Linked DNA regions of Homo sapiens: regions 2, 3, 4 and 5 are each linked to region 1. The links are contacts of gene promoters, found by promoter capture Hi-C in blood cells and fetal thymus (Javierre and others, 2016). All regions are on one chromosome and are shown on one strand. The core of a region is centred on a gene start or on the middle of the fragment in contact, and the rest is flanking DNA. Distances in the headings are between cores, read along the strand shown.

What was found. Contacts are between HindIII fragments. The CHiCAGO score rates a contact against its expected background, and 5 or more counts as called.
Region 2: a contact is called between a fragment that was not itself captured here and the fragment with the promoter of NKX3-1 in region 1, in 2 of 17 cell types (neutrophils and erythroblasts). The highest score is 7.4, in neutrophils.
Region 3: a contact is called between a fragment that was not itself captured here and the fragment with the promoter of NKX3-1 in region 1, in 16 of 17 cell types (neutrophils, monocytes, M0 macrophages and 13 more). The highest score is 22.8, in neutrophils.
Region 4: a fragment that was not itself captured here is called in contact with the fragment with the promoter of NKX3-1 in region 1 in 13 of 17 cell types (M2 macrophages, M0 macrophages, M1 macrophages and 10 more); the score reaches 15.2 in M2 macrophages.
Region 5: a fragment that was not itself captured here is called in contact with the fragment with the promoter of NKX3-1 in region 1 in 2 of 17 cell types (naive CD8 T cells and M2 macrophages); the score reaches 5.5 in naive CD8 T cells.

Annotation. Positions count from the first base shown.
Region 1 is chr8:23,681,166-23,685,019 of GRCh38, forward strand. It overlaps NKX3-1 (NK3 homeobox 1), which reads right to left and starts at 1,773. Exons shown (of 2, transcript NM_006167.4): 1 at 1,439-1,773; 2 at 1-474. The coding sequence starts at 1,724. The coding sequence ends at 56. All of the region lies in intron 3 of LOC107986930 (a long non-coding RNA gene), which reads left to right. RefSeq lists silencers at 1,355-1,404, 1,445-1,954. The HindIII fragment of the contact is 16,626 bases long and covers 1-3,854 here.
Region 2 is chr8:23,435,317-23,439,170 of GRCh38, forward strand. ENTPD4 (ectonucleoside triphosphate diphosphohydrolase 4) reads right to left here. Exons shown (of 13, transcript NM_004901.5): 10 at 1,618-1,942; 11 at 76-161. Among named protein-coding and RNA genes, the nearest start is that of ENTPD4, 20 kb to the right of the region's middle. The HindIII fragment of the contact is 3,004 bases long and covers 281-3,284 here.
Region 3 is chr8:23,463,330-23,467,183 of GRCh38, forward strand. All of the region lies in intron 2 of ENTPD4-DT (ENTPD4 divergent transcript), which reads left to right. Among named protein-coding and RNA genes, the nearest start is that of ENTPD4-DT, 7.5 kb to the left of the region's middle. The HindIII fragment of the contact is 5,931 bases long and covers 1-3,854 here.
Region 4 is chr8:23,483,782-23,487,635 of GRCh38, forward strand. The region is part of intron 3 of ENTPD4-DT (ENTPD4 divergent transcript); the gene reads left to right. Among named protein-coding and RNA genes, the nearest start is that of ENTPD4-DT, 28 kb to the left of the region's middle. The HindIII fragment of the contact is 255 bases long and covers 1,806-2,060 here.
Region 5 is chr8:23,502,784-23,506,637 of GRCh38, forward strand. No RefSeq gene overlaps it. Among named protein-coding and RNA genes, the nearest start is that of SLC25A37, 24 kb to the right of the region's middle. The HindIII fragment of the contact is 2,262 bases long and covers 499-2,760 here.

The DNA.
Region 1 (3,854 bases), core at 523-3,022:
GAGACACCCTGGGGAAGGCAGTTTTTGATCATAATGGTTGTCACCTGAGCTGGCATTACCAAAAAGCTGGGCTCCAGCTGCCCACGCAGTACAGGTATGGGTAGTAAGGATAGCTGTTATACACGGAGACCAGGGAGGCCCGGGAGAAGGCCTCCTCTTTCAGGGCCGGCAAAGAGGAGTGCTTCTCCAAGTCTCCCAGCTCCGAGGAGAGCTGCTTTCGCTTAGTCTTATAGCGTCTGTTCTGGAACCATATCTTCACTTGGGTCTCCGTGAGCTTGAGGTTCTTGGCCAGGTGGGCCCGTTCAGGGGCCGACAGGTACTTCTGATGGCTGAACTTCCTCTCCAACTCGATCACCTGAGTGTGGGAGAAGGCAGCTCGGGAGCGCTTCTGCGGCTGCTTAGGGGTTTGGGGAAGCCTTGGAAGGGCGCCTGAAGTGTTTTCAGAGTCCAACAGATAAGACCCCAAGTGCCTTTCTGGAAAGGAGAGTGGGGAAGGAGGGATGGGAAGACAAAAGTTACATGTTAGCAGGGAAGAGAACAGAATTCAATCCACCCTTATCTCTTTAGTGAGTGAACAAACAGCCCACTGTCATCGTGGATACATTTCACTTTTTTCACATGACTAAGGAGCTCTCCGGAGTGAAGAGTGAGTAAATATGTTTATTACGCATTCATTTGCTAAGAATCATCAAGAACCCAAAGTTAGAGACGTTTCGTGGTTGAACTTTCTCCCTACTGTCTAGTAGAATTATATGGGGATTCTGGATCTGTGTGCTGAGGAGAGGCGGGAGAGGGAGGCAGGGAAAATGCCGTGGAACAAGATACCCGGGAAGGCCAGACCAAAAGACATCCGGTGTTAGGATCCAGGTGGGCAAGAGAGGGCTTGTGCCACTGGAGACGCAGAGGCAGGCTCATTCTGGGCTTTAATTCCCTCTTCGCTAAACGAGGCGTTCGGTCGCCTCATCAGAAGTGACAGGAAAGAAAATAAGTGGACTCTCTCTCCTGGACACCGGAGGGAACCCCGAATATACCGCTTTACTGCCCACGGGATTGGGAAGCACACGGAGGCTTTGCTGGTCAACCCCTGCTTTGTCACTGTTAATAAGTTATTATTAGTTCTCATAACTACCGGGGGGCTGGCGCCGATCGCGGGTGGCGCGGGGCGGGATCCGCTCCTGGGACGGTGGAGGGCGGTGGCGCTGCAGTCGCGCCGGCTTCTGAGCCCCAGGGAGCGGAGGGCACGGAGCCGGGCGAGTCCTGCGGTGTCAGAATCCTGCGCCGCCCTGACGCTGGGGCTCAGGGTTCATTCCGGGGGCGCGCGCGTGGCTGCGGAGGCGGGAAGGTCCCTCTGCCTGTCGCCGCGGAGCCCCGCGTCCCTGCACCCCGAGCTCTGGGGGTCCGCCTTGGGCTGCCCCCCTTCCCCGGCCTCGCCGCTTACCTGGCTCGGTCTCTGCCAGCGTCTCGGCCTCCTCCGGCGCGGCGCGGGGCCCGGTGCTCAGCTGGTCGTTCTGCGCCCCGGCGCGGCTGCGTCCTCCCTCTGGCTCTGGCTCTGGCTCCGGCTCCGGGTCGCGCTGTCTCTGGCTGCTCGTGCGGCCGCCTTGCCGCTGCGCGCCGTCCCGCAGGATGTCCTGGATGAGGAAGGACGTGAGCGGCTTGGACGGGGTCGGCGGCGCGGCCCCCTCCGCTTTCGCCTCCCCGGGCCGCGGCTCCGGAACCCTGAGCATCCCGGCGGCCCCGCCTTGGCCTGAATGCACCCGCCCGGCCCGCACCGCTTTCACTTTCCGCCTCCCGGCTCGCTTATAGCCCAGGGGAGCGGGCCGCGCCGCCCTCCCATTGGCCGCGGGACGGGCCGCGCCGCGGATTGGCCGCCCTGAGCCCCAGGTGACCCCGCCGATCTGCGAGCCCTGAGCACTGCCCCGCTCCGCTCCTCCCTAGGGGATTCCTTCCCCAGTTCCCTCTCCTTCCCCAATTCCCTCTCCTTCCCCAATTTCCTCTCCTTCTCCAGCTCTCCTCCCTCCGCCCTGAGCCGTTTTCCCAGGCCAGGAGCGCACCCCAAAGCGGGGCTCCTCTGCCCCAACCCACCCGCAACAGAGAGAAGCTCCTGGGGATGGGACGATCAAGACAAACAGTCCAGTTAGCTCTTCAGGACCGTCAGAGCCAATTACAGGGGATGAGCACGCAGTCACTGCAGCCGCGCGGTACCGTGAGAGTTCTGGGTGCTCTCTCTCTCTGGGAGAGATGGTGCAAACTCAGATCTGCAATATCTACGACCTCAAAGAGGCATGACAAGTAGGTGCAGCCAGACCCCAGGCTGAAAGAAGGAAAACACCTTTGCCAAAGCCTTTTCCCGTTGCAGAAGTGGTTTTCTTTGGTGGTTCCTTTATCCGCAATAACCTGTTAACTTTCCTTCCTCCCCAGACACATGACATACCATCCTTTTGAAAAGTTTCCAGACGGATGGAAGGCGTTTTAGGCCAGGACAAATGCAAAAACTGCATTTAAAAAAGTAGTTCAAAAGAACATCAGCATACTCTTTTTGCAGATTACCAACTGTTAACATGTAACCCATTGGCTAAACAATGGGTTAGCCAGATTGGTCCAACCGGTACTGTGACTGGACTGGACGGTACCGTGACAACAGACGAAAGTGGAACAGAGATGATGGAAGTATTTTCTTTCCTTGTCTTTTCTCTTCTTTTTTTTACGGACAGGGTCTCCCTCTGCCGCCCAGGCTGGAGTGCAGTGATGCCATCATAACTCACTGCAGCCTCGATTTCCTGGATTCAAGTGATCCTCCTGCCTTGGCCTCTCAAAGTGCCAGGACTACAGGCATGAGTCTCAGTGTCAGGTCGATGATGGAAGTATTGAATTAATGTTAAATTTACTGAAATTGCACATTGTACTGTCAGTGTACAAGAGAATATTTTTAGGAAATAAACACTGAAGTAAGTAGGAGCAAAGGCACAAGATTTATGAAACTTACATCAAATGGTTCTGAAACAAGGATGCAGATTGATAGATCCCACGCCATAAAGCCGATGGGTTAAATGGTAACAGTTGGTAATCTGGAAAAAGGGTAGGCTGATGTTTTTTAGAACCATTTTTTTAATGCAACTTTTTTGTCTGTCCTGGTCTAAGACGGCTTCTATTCAACTGGCAACTTTTCAAAAGGATGGTATGTCATGTGTCTCTGGAGGAAGGAAAGTTAATAGGTTATTGCTGATAAAGCGACCGCCAAAGAAAACTACCTGTGCAACGGGAAAGACTTTGGCAAAGCTGGTTTTCTTCTCTCATCTTTTCAAAGTCTCTTTATATTAGAACATTCTTTAATGTTTTCTTTTGAATCATTGTAGATTCACAGGAAGTTGCAAAAATAATACCTCCAGTGTCCTCCAAAGACATCTATACAACTGTAGGACAATGTAGAAAACAGGAAATTTACGTTGGGACATTACAGTTAACTAGACTACAGACGTCATTTATTTATTTATTTAGAGATAGGGTCTTGCTCTGTTGCCCAGGCTGGAGTGCAGTGGAGAGATCATGGCTCACTGCAACTTCAACCTCCTGGGCTCAGGAGATTCTCCCACCTCAGCCTCCTGAATAGCTGGGACTACAGGTGTGTGCCACCCTGCCCAGTTAATTTTTGTAGTTTTTGTAAAGATAAGGTTTCACCCTGTTGCCCAGGCTGGTCTCAAAGCCCTGGGCTCAAACAATCCTTCCGCCTCCACCACCCAAAGTGCTGAGACTACAGGTGTGAGCCACTGTGCTGGGCCTTATTGTGGTTTAAATTTTTAATTTGCATTTCACAAATGCCTAGAGATGTTGAATACCTTGTCATGTGCTTGTTTGCC
Region 2 (3,854 bases), core at 533-3,032, 250 kb before region 1:
GTGTGGCAAGCCAGTGGGGCCAACACTGCATTATGGTTCTTAAGAGTGCCCTGGGCTTGACCTTCTAGTACTTACTTAAGCCTGTGGAGGTCAGCATGAGAGGCGTACAGTCCTCGGTCAAAGCGTTCCCGCAAAATGGACCACTTTGTTGCACAATAATCCTGAAAACAAATTCACCAAAATAGATCACTAGTAAAGGCTTATTAAAATTCTCACTTTAAAAATGGTTTACCAAATTTATATTTGTAACAAGCATATCCTTCCCATTAGGAAACACACAAGCTTAACTTATACAACAAATGGCAAGACACACAAACACTCAGGGAATACTTACTGATTCGCAAACACAATGCCTTGCCTTAAAATTCTGTCCAGGGTATTGTTAAAGAGAGCTTTGCTGTCCACAACCAACCTCTCCAAAACTGTTTAGTTTCTCCCTCCATGACTGCATGGTACGGGCATACATTTTTGGAAAAGTGAAGCAGTATTTTAGCTACTTCAAACTAAGTCCTACATCTGTGGAGGACACAGTACAAGCTACTGGGATAATAACTGCAAAAGGTTTTTGTCTTTAACAGAAGGGAAAGAGATCCCACTTTTCTTGAAGTTATTTGTTATAATAACTTTTATTGAGCATTGTGTAAGTGTGTCTTCTCAATGTAATACTTAACTCCTCGAGGTGGCTACCATCCCGACCTCTATTTAAAGGATGAAGACACTGCTGAGAGGTGGGAGATGGGCCTGGGTGTGTGACAGGGAGCACAAGGAAAAAGCACTTGGCCTGGGGAACGGGCTCGGCATAGGCACTTCAGGAACATGGACATGGACACAGAGAAGTCGCGGAGAGCGTGAGGGAAGCCAGCTGTCTGACATGATTACAGCATACAGTGCTCTGCGCTTCGAGATGGGTTTGAGAAATACTTGGAAGATAAAATACCACACTTGTGACTGATTACACTGGGGTGTATAGGGAGAGATGAAATGGTTAGAGGGAGAAGTCCATGACTCCTAGGCTGCAGGGAAGGGGACTGGATGGTTGGCGATGCCATTAACCGAGAGAAGAACAGGAACAGAATGGAGAGAGGATGGTGGGTTTGTCTGGAGTTGTGGAATCTAGCAGGCAACCGGGCAGGGGTCAGGATTGGAGCCTCTTCTTGAGAGGCAGCAGCAAACCCTGAATATGGATGAGACCATCCAAGAACCTGAAGATCAGGGGCCAAGTGTGGAAGTCTGGCATCACCTAAGTTTAAGGGGTGTCAGGAAGGCAGAGAGAACACAAGAACAGGAGTATCCTGGCAGGTCAGGGAGGGGGAAGGCTAGTAGGAGAATTGTCACATGCAGCAAAGCACAAAAATGACATAAAAGACTGTAATTTGGAGCTAACTGATGACCAGGGTAGCTAATGGAGTGGTGCAGAAGTCAGCGTACAGTACATTTTTTACTTCTGCTGTGACTATTCAACCTCCCTCCAAGCAAAGGGAACAGGATCCCAACATGCTGCAGTGCAGCCTTCTATACTCCGTCTTTCCCTGTCAATGTGAAAGGAGGACATAACCCGTCACCGTCCACACTGGTCTCTCAAAAGCATGCAGAGCAGACGGCGTCTCTCAAGGGTACCTTTGCAGCTTTAGTAAATTTAGCAGCATTGTAGTCTCCCCCCATTCGTAACACATCCTCGGTGCAGTAGTAGAATTCGGAGAAGCCATAGAATTCACTGTTCTGGAAGTGAATTGGGGGCTGGTAGACCCCATTGAGGGAAGTCTGGGTCTCGTTTGTTTTATTCATGAAAGGCTGGATAGTCTCTCGACACAGGTCAAAGTCTCCAGTCCCTCGTAGGTATATGGTTTGTCCATTTTGCTGGATTTCATCTTTAATGTCTAGGGGTAGGCAGGGGTCCAAGTACGGCATATCAGGAGTCAGACCAGTCTGTTTACCCAGGAGCCTATGGCAAAACAAGAAACTTCATCGTGAGTCCTACAGAAAACTGTGTTTTCAGGAAGTGGCTGCAAACCAGTGTTTCTCAAAATACGCTCTGTGGGACATGAGACCTGCAGGACCGTGTCTGTGGAACAGAAAAGGGTTCCGAGATAATTAGTTAGGAAAATACACACTTGAGACTTTCTTGGAGAGTCAGGATACAAACTTGCCTGCAGCAGACAGGCTACCAGAGTCCAGTTGGATAACCTACCCGATTAGCCGACGATCCTGGCAACAAGGCCTGATGTTCCCAGCTGCTGGGCACAAGGCAACTGTGTTACCAGCCCCATTTTTGCACTAGTGCTTGTGGTTTTACCTAATACAGATGGAAGGAACGTGACTGTGACAAGATCCGGTCCTGGGCAAAGCAGGTTAGATGCTTTAGAAAAGTTACTAGAAAATTATCAAACTAGGTGTGGGTAGGATTTTTAAAACTGGGAAAAATTAGCAAACATCTAGAAGGATTTGGTATCAAATTGCCTTGCAAATCTCTTTTAAGTCCTCAGTATTCTTTAAACAAAGACAAACTGGTATCTCAATGAGGGGTGCAGTGCATGCCAAAGAAAGGATGGAGTCTAAAAACAGACCTTGGTTCAGAGGAAAAGATTAGCAAATGAATACAGAAGTTAAGACAGAATGTCTAAGGCTTGGCTCTATTTTTATCATTCTGTTTCAACTTATTTCTTTCCTTGATCAGCTATGGGTCCCAACTGCAGCAGACAGCAGTTTCCATTGTACAATGGGCTCTGAGATGCCCTGTAGAAAATAAACATTAATTTTGTTAACTGAAAGGCACTAGGCTTATTACTTGCTAATGAAATTTCTGGGAGTTAACATCTGTCATCCTATTGTGTGTGCATGCCTTCAAGCAACAAGAAACAGAGAAGAGCTCACAAAATCTCAAGTGATGTTGGTGTTGGATACTGTGAAATCACAGGGGCCTGACAGGTGTTGAACTGTTAAAGGGTTAAGCATGGTCAGAATTCAATATTCATCACCGACAGTCAAGTTTTCACTTTTCACTCAACTCACAAGTTGTGTATTCCTCAGATCAGGGTTACTCATCATGCAGTTGAATGTAATAAATTAAGGTCTTTGCCATAAAAATGTTCGCTTAATTTAAAAAAATTAATCACCACTACAAATGGCGAAGAGATAAATGTGTACTTCAATGCTCAATTCATGACATATGAAACACCTGTAATTACTATAAAAGTCCAAGAGTAGTCAAATATATATTTCATGCTATTATTTTTAGTTGTCCTATATCTAAATTAAGAAGTACCACTAAACTATCCATTATATAAAGCTTTCTGACATTAAAACCAATGAGTAAAAATTAAGGTTTCGGAAAAAATATGTTACAAATGTTGTCTATAAAATATTTCTAGTTTAAGACTACTATAAAAATGATTATACCAAAATGTGCTAAATACCAATTAAAAATACAAAATCATGGGACTACCAATCTTATAATTAAAACTATTCAGTTAACTTTTGGAAGAGACACAGGAAAAGGTTTTTATTGCTTTTCCTATTTACACACATGACTTTGTGGTAAATGTACTGAATAGCTCCAACTTGGTCTTTTTTCAAGTTCAGGCCTTCACAGGTTTATTAAGATTACATTAATCAAGGAAGTATACAATCTCTTAGCTCTATGAACTAGGATTTTTTTCCCTCAAAATTGTTTCATCAAAATAAACAAATAAAACACAGTAATAAATAGGATAGCTTACATAACCCCAGATTCAGATTTTTTTATTTATCCAAATAGCTTTTATGTTCTTACAAATTTCAAATAAATAAGTGCTATATACTTACACTTATACAGTCAATTTAAACCAATAGAGTGCTGTTTTGTTTTATATATTTTC
Region 3 (3,854 bases), core at 674-3,173, 220 kb before region 1:
GAGTTTGAGGCTGCAGTGAGCTGTGATCGCACCACTGCACTCCATCCTGGGTGACAGAGCAAGATCCTGTCTCCAAAGAAAACTTAAAAAAAAAAAAATCAAACATAAGATAGAAGACCTCTTTCCTTCTCTTGTTGAACTTGAGATTTCTTTGTAACAGTGTATATGGGAATGTTGATGAATGGAGTAGGGCAGATGAACAACCATCAATATCTAAAACCCAATTATGATTTCTCTTTAATTATCTTTCTAGAAAACCCTCTAACATGGCAATTGCTTGAAATTCTGCTCTCCAAATGTTTTAATCCATCATTCCAAGGAAGCTAAATTGGCTCACCTGTCCCTCCTGGCTGTGTGTGGGTGTTTGGGGAAGGTAACCATGCTAGATGTCAGGAAACAAAGGAATCCTGCAGCGCTTGGAAATGGGGAGTTCTCTTACTCTTCCTTGGACCTGTTTGCTTTCCAAGACATTCATGCACAGACTATTTTTGAGTGGCTTGGCTAATAATCCTATATATTTACACAGCCTTTGTCTTCAGGAAATCATGTCACTTTACAGGCATGGTCTCATTTATGAGCCCAGCATTCCTAAGGCAAAGGGATTTTTATTTCATGGTGTTTTGTTGTGGAGAGAAAGAGAAAGTGACTTGTTCAAAGCAACATCAAAATCCAGGGTTTCCTCCAAATTTTTTTAAAAATTATTTATTTATTTATTTTTTGAGACCAAGTTTCACTCTTGTTGTCCAGGCTGGAGTGCAATGGCGCGATCTTGGCTCACCATAACCTCTGCCTTCTGGGTTCAAGCGATTCTCCTGCCTCAGCCTCCCGAGTAGCTGGGATTACAGGCATGCGCCACCACGCTGGGCTAATTGTTATGTATTTTTAGTAGAGACGGGGTTTCTCTATGTTGGTCAGGCTGGTTTCGAACTCCCGACCTCAGGTGATCTGTCCGCCTTGGCCTCCCAAAGTGCTTGGATTACAGGCGTGAGCCACAACGTCTGGCCCTAAATCCTGGGTTTACTCCAAACTTTTCTCATCAAAGCAGAGTGATCAAACTGTACCATAAAGGAGTCACATGGGAGATGGGTAATTGAACACACAAACACATGCACACACACACACACACACAAAACACACACACACGTAGGCAGCAGACATAGTTGCTTTTGCTGCTCGGGCCCCATCACTCTAGTTTTGGTAACAGTACCTCAGATTTCTGAAGGAATATACTCAGGTCATATTTGGTCCATTTGGGTCAGAAATTATGACCCTGGCCTGGTTAAGCAAGGTAATTTTGTCTCCTGATCATGATGACTGGCACGAGTCAATGTTGTTCTGATTAGATAAAAGCTCCATTTTTCAATATCAGCTTCATCTGTGATAAAGATGATACTTTGGTTTGTAAACCCAGAAAATCAGAGACAAGTCTCAGTTAATTTAGAAAGTTTATTTTGCCAAGGTTGAGGATGTGCGCCCATGGCACAGCCTCAGGAAATCCTGACGCCATGTGCCCAAGGTGGCTGGGGCACCGCTTCATTTTATACATTTTAGGGAGACATGAGACATCAATCAATATATGTAAGACATACATTGGTTCCATCCAGAAAGGTGGGGACAACTCAAAGCAAGGAGGGGTCTTCCAGATCACTGGTAGGTGAGAGAAAAGGGGTTGCATTCTTTTGAGTTTCTGATAAGCCTTTCTAAAGGAGGCAATCAGAATATGCCTCTATGTCAGTGAGCAGAGGGATGACTTTGAGTAGAATGGGAGGCAGGTTTGCCCTGAGCAGTTTCCAGCTTGAATTTTCCCTTTGGCTTAGTGATTTTGGGGCCCCAAGATATTTTCCTTTCACAGGTTTTCATATAGTTTTTGTTTCATTTCTAAAATTATTCAGACTTAAGCAGGAAGCAGTGGGTAGTTTATTGGACACCTTAAACCTCTCTCTGTTCCTTTCTCACACCAGATAACATACCATTCTTCCTCTCACCATCCTTCCCTACTGCACCATCACCTTTAAGTTAAGGTTGAAATTCCTGAGCAAATCAACTGCAAATCGATGAGGTGACCAGATGTCATGGACAGGATGGCTTCACACTAGTCTCCTTGGCATGACACCCCAAGGCCATGGTTAAGTTGCTTTCAACTTTTAAGCCTGATGTCCAGACACTTCCCTATATATATTTTCGCTGTGTTCTAACATGTTTAATGGACTATTTGCTTGTTTCCCAATTGTGCCTTCTTTTCTTTTCTTTTCTTTTTTTTTTTTTTTGAGATGGAGTTTCACTCTTGTTGCTCAGGCTGGAGTGCAGTGGTGTGATCTCGGCTCACTGCAACCTCTGCCTCCCGGGTTCAAGCAATTCTTCTGCCTCAGCCTCCCGAGCAGCTGGGACTACAGGCACGTGCCACCATGCCTGGCTAATTTTTGTATTTTTAGTAGAGATGGGGTTTCACTATGTTGGTCAGGCTGGTCTCGAACTCCTGACCTCATGATCCGATCAGTGCAGGGCTTTTCTAAGTGCCAGCCATCTGTGACTGACTGCACAGGTCCCACGCCCTAGAAGCAGCTCTGTAGCTACCCCAGGAAAATGTAGCCCTATGGCCTTGACTGTAGAAGCCTCTGCTGTTGCCCAAGGCTGTGGGCTGGCCTGAGCAGCTGGGAGGATGAGTGGGGAGTGTGGGGCTTCAGGACAGAGCTTGAGCCTTGATACTTGCCTGACTTTCAGTCTTACAGAAACCACAGTATTACAGACTTTTCCATGTTGTTGTTACAAAGATATATAGATTTAATATATAGATTTAAAAATAAATGCAAAAAAGTAAAAATTAGAGGGGCTATAACATTTGATTTACTAGTTTATCTGAATTTATCATTTTAAACATCTTAAAACATGGGTGTGTCCTCTTAGCCCTGACCCTCCAAATGTTTGTGGCAATCCCAGAGTGGAGAACGCAGAAGGAATGAATAAACCTCCTGGAAGAGGTGGCATGAGATGTGACTGAAGACACAAAGAGAACGATAAATGTGAAGAGGAGGAAGGATTCCTCTTTTGTTAAAAAAAATTGTGGTAAAATACACATAACATAAAATTTACCATCTTAAATTTATTTATTTATTTATTTATTTATTTAGAGACAGAGTCTCTGTCACCCAGGCTGGAGTACAGTGGTACAATAGTAGCTCACTGTAACCTCAAACTCCTGGGCTCAAATGATCCTCATGCTCCAACCTCCCAAAGTGCTGGGATTACAGGCGTGAGCCACCGCACCCTGCCCATCTTGATCATTTTTAAGTGTACACTTCAGTAATGTTATGTGTATACATATTATTGTGCCACCAATCTCCAGAAGTTTTTCATCTTGCAAAACTGAAACTCTGTACCTGCTAAACGACTCCCCATTCCTCTCTCTTCATCCCCCGGCAACCCTCAGTCTGCTTTCTGCCTATAAATTTGACTACTCTGGATACCTTATATATGTGGAACTCTACAGCATTGGTCTTTTTGTGACTGGCTTATTTCAATTAGCATAAAGTTCTCAAGGTTCATCTGTGTTGCAGCATGCGTTGGAATGTCTTTCCTCTTTAAGACCAAATAATATTCCACTGTATGGATATACTGCATTTTATTTACCTATTCATCTGTTGATGGACACTGGGTAGCCTCCACCTTTGAGTATTGTGAATAATGCCACTATGAATATGGGTATACAAATGTGTCTTTGGGACTCTGCTTTTAATCCTTTGGATGTATACCCAGAAATGGGGAATGTCTTAGTCCATTTTGTGTTGCTCTAACAGAATACCACAAACTGGGTAATTTATAATGAAATTTAGATTTTAAAAGAAACAAATTTATGG
Region 4 (3,854 bases), core at 683-3,182, 200 kb before region 1:
CTCTTCCTGGGGTTGGGTGGAGACAGGACTGATAAACTGCTGTCCTTATTCAAGGGCCTCAAGGCCCTACCCCCAGAGTAGAGGCTCCCTCGTTCCGAGTTGTCACATAAAACAAACTCCCTCCAGCCAGATGCAGCCTGGGCCCTTGAAAGCTCAGCTCAGGATGTGGGTCTCTCCTAGGGTTGCTGGAGATCTTCAGGAAGATAGGGAGTGGCCTTCTCTCAGCACTTTCTTCCCCAGCCTGCTCCAGCCACAAAAGTCCCCTGTCAGGTTCATTACCACCTTCTCCTATTCCCTTCCTGTGAATGCTTCTGTCAGCAGTTTTTTTGGTAATGATGATGGTGATGGGTGATAATAGCTTCCTGAGTTCTTATGACAGGCCAATCATGTTACACAGAGCATTTCTGAGAATCTTCACAACGTTCAGTATGTACACACCTTATGAGACATGCACAGTTCTCCTCATTTTACGGAGGAGAAAGCTGAGATTTAGAGATAAATTGATTTCCTCCAGATCACATTGACAGTTACTGGCAGATCTAACTGACTAGCTCCAAGTCCTTGCTCTTAACCCTGTCTTGATGTCTTAACCCTCCACTTGAACTCTAGCCTGTAATGCTGTCTTCTCCTCCTGCAGGAACCAGCCCATTATTTAAGGTGGACATGACTTTTTTTTTTTTTTCCCCAGGCTGGAATGCAGTGGTGCGATCGCGATCTCGGCTTATTGCAACTTCTGCCTCCTGGGTTCAAGCAATTCTCCTGCCTCAGCCTCCTGAGTAGCTGGGATTACTGGCATGCGCCACCATGCCTGGCTAATTTTTGTTTGCTTGTTTTTGTTTTTTGTTTTTTGTTTTTTTGAGACTGAGATTTGCTCTTGTTGCCCAGGCTAGATTACAGTGGTGCGATCTTGGCTCACCACAACCTCCACCTCCCGGGTTCAAGCAATTCTCCTGCCTCAGCCTTCCTGAGTAGCTGGAATTACAGGCATGCGCCACCATGCCCAGCTAATTTTGTATTTTTAGTAGAGATGGGGTTTCTCCATGTTGGTCAGGCTGGTCTCGAACTCCTGACCTCAGATGATCCCCCAGCCTCGGCCTTCCAAAGTGTTGGGATTATAGGCGTGAGCCACTGCGCCTGGCCTGTTTTTGTTTTTTTTTGAAATGGAGTCTTGCTCTGTTGCCAGGCTGGAGTGCAGTGGTGCCATCTTGGCTCACTGCAACCTCTGTCTCCTGGGCTCAAGTGATTCTCCTGCCTCAGCCTCCCGAGCAGCTAGGACTACAGGCGCGCACCACCACACCCAGCTAAGTTTTGTATTTTTAGTAGAGACGGGGTTTCACCGTTGGCCAGGATGGTCTCGATCTCTTAACCTCCTGATTAGCCCGCCTCGGCCTCCCAAAGTTCTAGGATTATAGGCGTGAGTCACCGCGCTGGGCCTAATCTTTTATTTTTAGTAGAGATGGGGTTTCGCCATGTTGGCCAGGCTGGTCTCAAACCCCTGACCTCAAGTGATCTGCCTGCCTCGGCCTCTCAAAGTGCTGGGATTACCAGCATGAGCCACTGCGCCCGGCTTGGACGTGACTTTCTTATATCATTCTCCAGCCATCATTCTCCAGGTACCCTTCTTCCTGTACCTCCCTGAGATCTGGGGCAGCAGTTTCAGTAGCGTGTGTGTGTGTGTGTGTGTGTGTGTGTGTGTGTGTGTGTACACCTCTGTATTTCATATACACACTCCAATTATAGCTTCCCATTATCCACTGAATGACATTTAAAGGATGAAATTGAAGTGACTTGGACAAAAGTCATAAAGCTTCTGTGCACAAAATACATATTTGTTGTTGTCTGTATAGGTGTCTCATGTGGGCAGAAGGTGCCCGACTTTTCCCTGTGTCAGCCTGCAGCACCTCAAGGAGTGCCTGGCACATCACGTGGACTCAATAAAAATTTTCTAAATAAATGAATGAAAGAAAAAACATGAATATTTTAATGATATCAGAATCTTAAAGTTTCAGTTTCTTCATCTGTAAAATAGGTATGATTATTTTCTCTCCCACTAGATTAAAAGCTTCTTAAGGGTGGGGAATGGATTGTATTCCGGGTCGTGTCCCTAACACCAGGCGCACTGCTAGGGACATAGGATGTACTCAATCAAAGTCAACTGGCCAAAGTGAATTCCCTGAAACTCCCAGGAGAGGTCTGAGAATGGAAGAAGTAAGGCCTAGAACATGCCCTGGACCCACCTTCCTTCCTTCCTCCCTCCTTCCCTCCCTCCCTGACTCTCTTTCTCCCTTTCTCCCTTCTTTCCCTTCCTTCCCTTTCTTCCCTTCCCTCCCTTCCCTCCCTTCCTTTCCTTTCTTTCTTTCCTTTCTTTCTTTATTTGCTTTCTTTCGACGGAGTCTTGCTCTGTTGCCCAGGCTGGAGTGCACTGGCGCGATCTCTGCTCACTGCAACCTTCACCACCTGTGTTCAAGCAATTCTCCTGCCTCAGCCTCCCGAGTAGCTGGGATTACAAGCATCCGCCACTACCCCTGGCTAATTTTTGTATTTTTTTTTTTTTAATAGAGACGGGGCTTTACCATGTTGGCCAGGATGGTCTTGAACTCCTGACCTCAGGTGATCCACCTGCGTCAGCCTCCCAAAGTGCTGGGATTACAGGCGTGAGCCCCTGGGCCCAGCCGCCCTGCACATTTCTTAGAGAAGAGCATTTTGGTGTTAAATTATTGAAATGAATTGTATTATCTGCCCCCTTACTGCAGAGTCTCATGTGCGAAGTCCAGGGAAAAGTGGTCCCTGGAACCCAAAACCAAGCCTTGTGGATCCCAAAGCCAATTTCCTCATTCCTACTGGTTTCCTTCTTATTCTGCCTCCATTAAAATGTCAGATGCCTCCATTGTGATCATTATCTCACTGCTTATTATCAGGGATAAGCAGAGCTTCACTGAGTGCAGGTAGAAGGCACAGGATTAACACCTGGAAGGGGGCCTGCTTCAGGAGTTGGAAGAAACGCCTGCCAAACCTCACCTGTCAGCCAGGGCCACGCGGCCAGAAGCTGTTTTCTGAGCTCACCTAGGCATTAGCACCTTGGTTGTTGACCCCTGGGAGGAGATTTCTTAAAAGTACCTTGCAACCATTTTATCCCTTTGCCATTATTTTTTTTCCAGGGGTGAGAGGAGAATTCTGCCCCCATAGCTTGTCAACATCTCTTCAGCTTGGTGGCCCACCCAGTCCACCCAGCAGAGCGACCTGCCCCACACCAGTGGCTCGCATGGGCCTTCTTATCTCCTTGGCCCAGCTGAATCTTGGTGAGCTGGTAGCGAGTTATGATCTGGGCATCCTGGAGGAGCCAGCTTCCAGGGTAGCATCAATTGCTGGGAGGGGTCTGTGGTCTGGAAGTCACATCTAGAGGTATGCAGCAAAGCCAGGTCAAGGCAAACACTATTGCCTTGTAGTTGCCTGAAGGGATAATCAGCGTGGCAGGAGGGTGTGGGAGGAAAAGGGAATAGTGGCCCCGCCCATTTCACCTTGGTGCCAGGGTGGAGTTCACAGACTAATTACAGGTTAAGGAGCTTAAGGCTTTCCACATTGCTTTCTTCCTCCTCTGTCTGCCTCACCTTCTCCTTCAGAACCACCAGGACCTATAGCAGTCCCACGGTGCTCTCCAGTCTCAGGGTTGGTGGCCAGCGTGGTGTCCCTGTGCTTTACCATGTCTTTCCATTATGTTTTCATTGTTTCTTTTCCTGCCCCATCTTGGTGCCCAGTAAGCCTACCCCCCCATTACAAAAATAACTACAACAAAAATAATTTAATACTGATGAGGCACGTCAGGCATGCAGTATCTTATTACATTGTCAAACCAC
Region 5 (3,854 bases), core at 380-2,879, 180 kb before region 1:
GCTCTGTTTTCTTCTCCGCTTCTCTTCCCTATTTCCCTCCCCTGTCCTCCCCATCCCCCACCTACAGATAGGCCTGAAACCAATACAGTTTTCAAGAGGAGAGCCTTTTTTTTTAAGAAAAAAAAAAAAAAAAGTTTAAAATTAAGAAATCAAAGACCAGGTGCGGTGGCTCATGCCTCTAATCCCAGTACTTTGGGAGGCCGAGGCAGGCGGATCACGAGGTCAAGAGATCAAGACCATCCTGACCAACATGGTGAAACCCCATCTCTACTAAAAAAAAATACAAAAAAAAGAAAAAAAAAAAAACTACTCGGGAGGCTGAGGCAGGAGAATTGTTTGAACTTGGGAGGCAGAGGTTGCAGTGAGCTGAGATCATGCCACTATGCTCCAGCTTGGGTGACAGAGTGAGATTCTGTCTCAAAAAAAAAAAAAAATTAAGAAATCAAATTTAAGTATAGGACCTTGAAAGGGATCATGTATGTAAGGGGTCTGAGCTTAAGCTTCATATGCTTCATGGTAAATCTACCTCTAATTCTGACTTTGGTTTCTCTCATTTGCATGAATTTTCTTTTAGGTTTTTTTTTTTTTTTTTTTTTGCATATTTCTTTCGTTTTTTCTTTTGAGACAGATTCTCACTCTGTTGTGCAGGTTGGAGTGCAGTGGCATGATCTTGGCTCACTGCAACCTCTGCCTCCTGGGTTCAAGCGATTCTCCTGCCTCACCCTCCCAACTAGGTGGGACTACAGGCGTGCGCCACCACACCCAGCTAATTTTTGTGTTTTTAGTAGAGACGGGGGTTTTTACCATGTTGCCCGGGCTAGTCTCAAACTTCTCAAGTGATCCGCCCACCTCAGCCTCCCAAAGTGCTGGGATTACAGGCATGAGCCACTGTGCCCAGCCCGCATATATATTTCTAAACTGTGTGAAATATTGCCTTACAGATTTTAAACCAGTATGTAAATGGCACCCTGACATTTTAACACAATTTGTTTTTTACACTCAATTCTTTACTTGGGAAATATATCCATGTTGATATACTAAGATTTGGTTTCTTTTCATTGCTATGTAATATTCCATTGTGTGACTACCAGAATCACTCTATTCTCCTGTTGCAGTTTTTCAGTAAAAATAGCAGGTTATAAGACAGAAGCAGGATGTAAACACACACACACATTTTCGTGCTGTAGGGCAGTTAAATTAGCCCCATTTTGTTGTAATATTAGAATAGAATTAGGTCAATAAAACATTATTCCAAAAAAAAAAATCCAGAAACAACACTACAAAAATGGAATGTGATGCAGGCAACGTTTCGAATCAGTGAGGGAATATGGACTATTTAATAAATGGTATTGGCCGGGTGTGGTGGCTCATGCCTGTAATCCCAGCACTTTGGGAGACTGAGGCGGGTGGATTACCTGAGGTCGGGGGTTCAAGACCAGCCTGGCCAACATGGTGAAACCCCATCTCTACTAAAAATACAAAAATTAGTCTGGCATGGTGGCAGGCGCCTGTAATCCCAGCTACTCGGGAGGCTGAGGCAGGATCATCACTTGAGCCCGGGAGGCGGAGGTTGCAGTGAGCCGAGATCACGCCATTACACTCCAGCCTGGGCAACAGATTGAGACTCCGTCTCCAAAAAAATAAAAATAAAAATAAATAAATAAATAAATAAATAAATAAGTGGTATTGACAGAATCAACTCTGTGTACACAAAATAAATAAAACTAAGTCGCTACCTTATGTGGTACACAAAATTATACTACAGATGAATTAAAAACCTAGCCCTTCAATATAAAAATTTCAAATTGTTAGCTAAAAATGTATAAGAAAATACTATGATCCCAAGTAAATGGAGATCTTAAATAAGTCACAGAAAATAAAACTCATGCAGTAAAAGGCTGAACATTTTAATTAGGTCAGTGAATAAATGTCATCCAAATAGTAAAAAAGGAACCATACAATAAGATACCCCAATGTTAAAGACAAGCTGAGGGCTGGGAGAAAACTTTGCAATGTATGTTTCAAAGAATGAGTAAAACAGATGAATTTTTAAAAAAGCCCTTTAGAAAAATGATCTAAGGGATGGGCACAGTGGCTTACACCAGTAATCCCAGCACTTTGGGAGGCCGAGGCTGGTGGATCACCTGAGGTAAGGAGTTCAAGACTAGCCTGACCAACATGGTGAAACCCTGTCTCTACTAAAAATACAAAAATTAGCTGGGCGTAGTGGTGGGCACCTGTAATCCCAGCTACTCGGGAGGCTGAGGCACGAGAATTGCATGAACCTGGGAGGCGGAGGTTGCAATGAGTGGAGATCTCACCATTGTACTTCACCCTGGGCAATGGATCGAGACTCCGTCTCAAAAAAAAAAAAAAGAAGAAGAAAGAAAAATGATCTGTGGATATGCATAGGCAATTCACAAAAGGGGAAATACACATGGCCACAAACACATAAGAAGATGCTCAAACACATTTTTTATCAGGCAAATACCAATGAAAACAATGGCGAGATACTGTTTACACTTACTCAGCTGGCTACCTTGAAAGATCTGGTAGGTGAAGGGTTGTCAAGATCGCAGGGGAACAGGAACGTTCATACTCTGTTTTCATATTTAAAATGGCGAGGACAATTTGGGCATACCTCAGACCCACAATTTCCTCTCACAGGAATTTAGAATAGAGAAAGGGAAAACACAGACGTTTACTGCAGTGTTGTTTGTAGTAGTGAAAAGTTGTTAATGATATTAACTGTCCGCTAAAAGCTTAAGAGGTCAAATAAAATATGGTATATCCATATAATGGAATGTTATTCAACACACAAAAATCCTTATATATATTATTTATATGTGAAATTATATATGTGTATACATATATATACATGAATGCATATGAAATTCTGGAAGGAAACACTTCAAACTCCCAAGAGCGGTTGGGCACCAGAATAGCAGGGAAGGGTTTGGAACTGTGGGAGGTGGTCAATGGGTAATTTAGTTTTGTATATGATGCCTGCTTTTGTTTAAAAGGGGCATGTATTTGTGTATCTCTTTTTCAATCAAAAATAATTTAAAATATAAAAGACTGGAAGGATGCATTGTACGTTCACAGTCCTATCTCTTGGGAACGAAATTATCAGTGACTTTTAGCTTGTTCTTTTTTCTTATCTGCATTTTCTAAAATTTCCACAATGTTTGTCTACCACATTTGTAATAAGAAAACTGTTATTTTTTAAGGATTATGGAAAGTTTAAAAAATTCTCAAAAAGTTAGTTTTAGGTTATCTTAAATATACTACCACTCTCTCCTCCATCACTTAGATAAACAGCACTGTATTTGGGAGGGGTGGCCGGTTTTTTATTTTTTTGAAGTTTGAGACAAGGTCTTGCTCTGTCACCTAGGCTGGAGTGCAGAGGCACAATCATGGCTCACTGCAGCATGGACCTCCCAGGCTTAAGAGATCCTCTCATCTCAGCCTCCCAAGTAGCTAGGACCGCAGGCATGCACCACCACTCCCAGCTAATATTTATTTTTGATTTTGGTAGAGATGGAGTCTCCCTCGGTAGCCCAGGCTGGGCTCAAACTTCTGAGCTCAAGCAATCCTCCTGCCTGGGCCTCCCAAAGTGTTGGGATTACAGGTGTGAGCCACTGTGCCTGGCTTGTGTGGCAGCTTTTATTGCAAAATTAGATAACTCCCCAAACTTTGGAAGTATTTTTTTAAAAAGCTTCCAAGATTCACTTAGCCAAGGCTGCTCACGGGGTTTAAGTAAATGGCTCTTCCACTTTTCACTGATGTTCTATTAACCAGCATACTCCAAGGATTTGACTCACTGACAATAAATATTTAACTCCAGTTAAGCA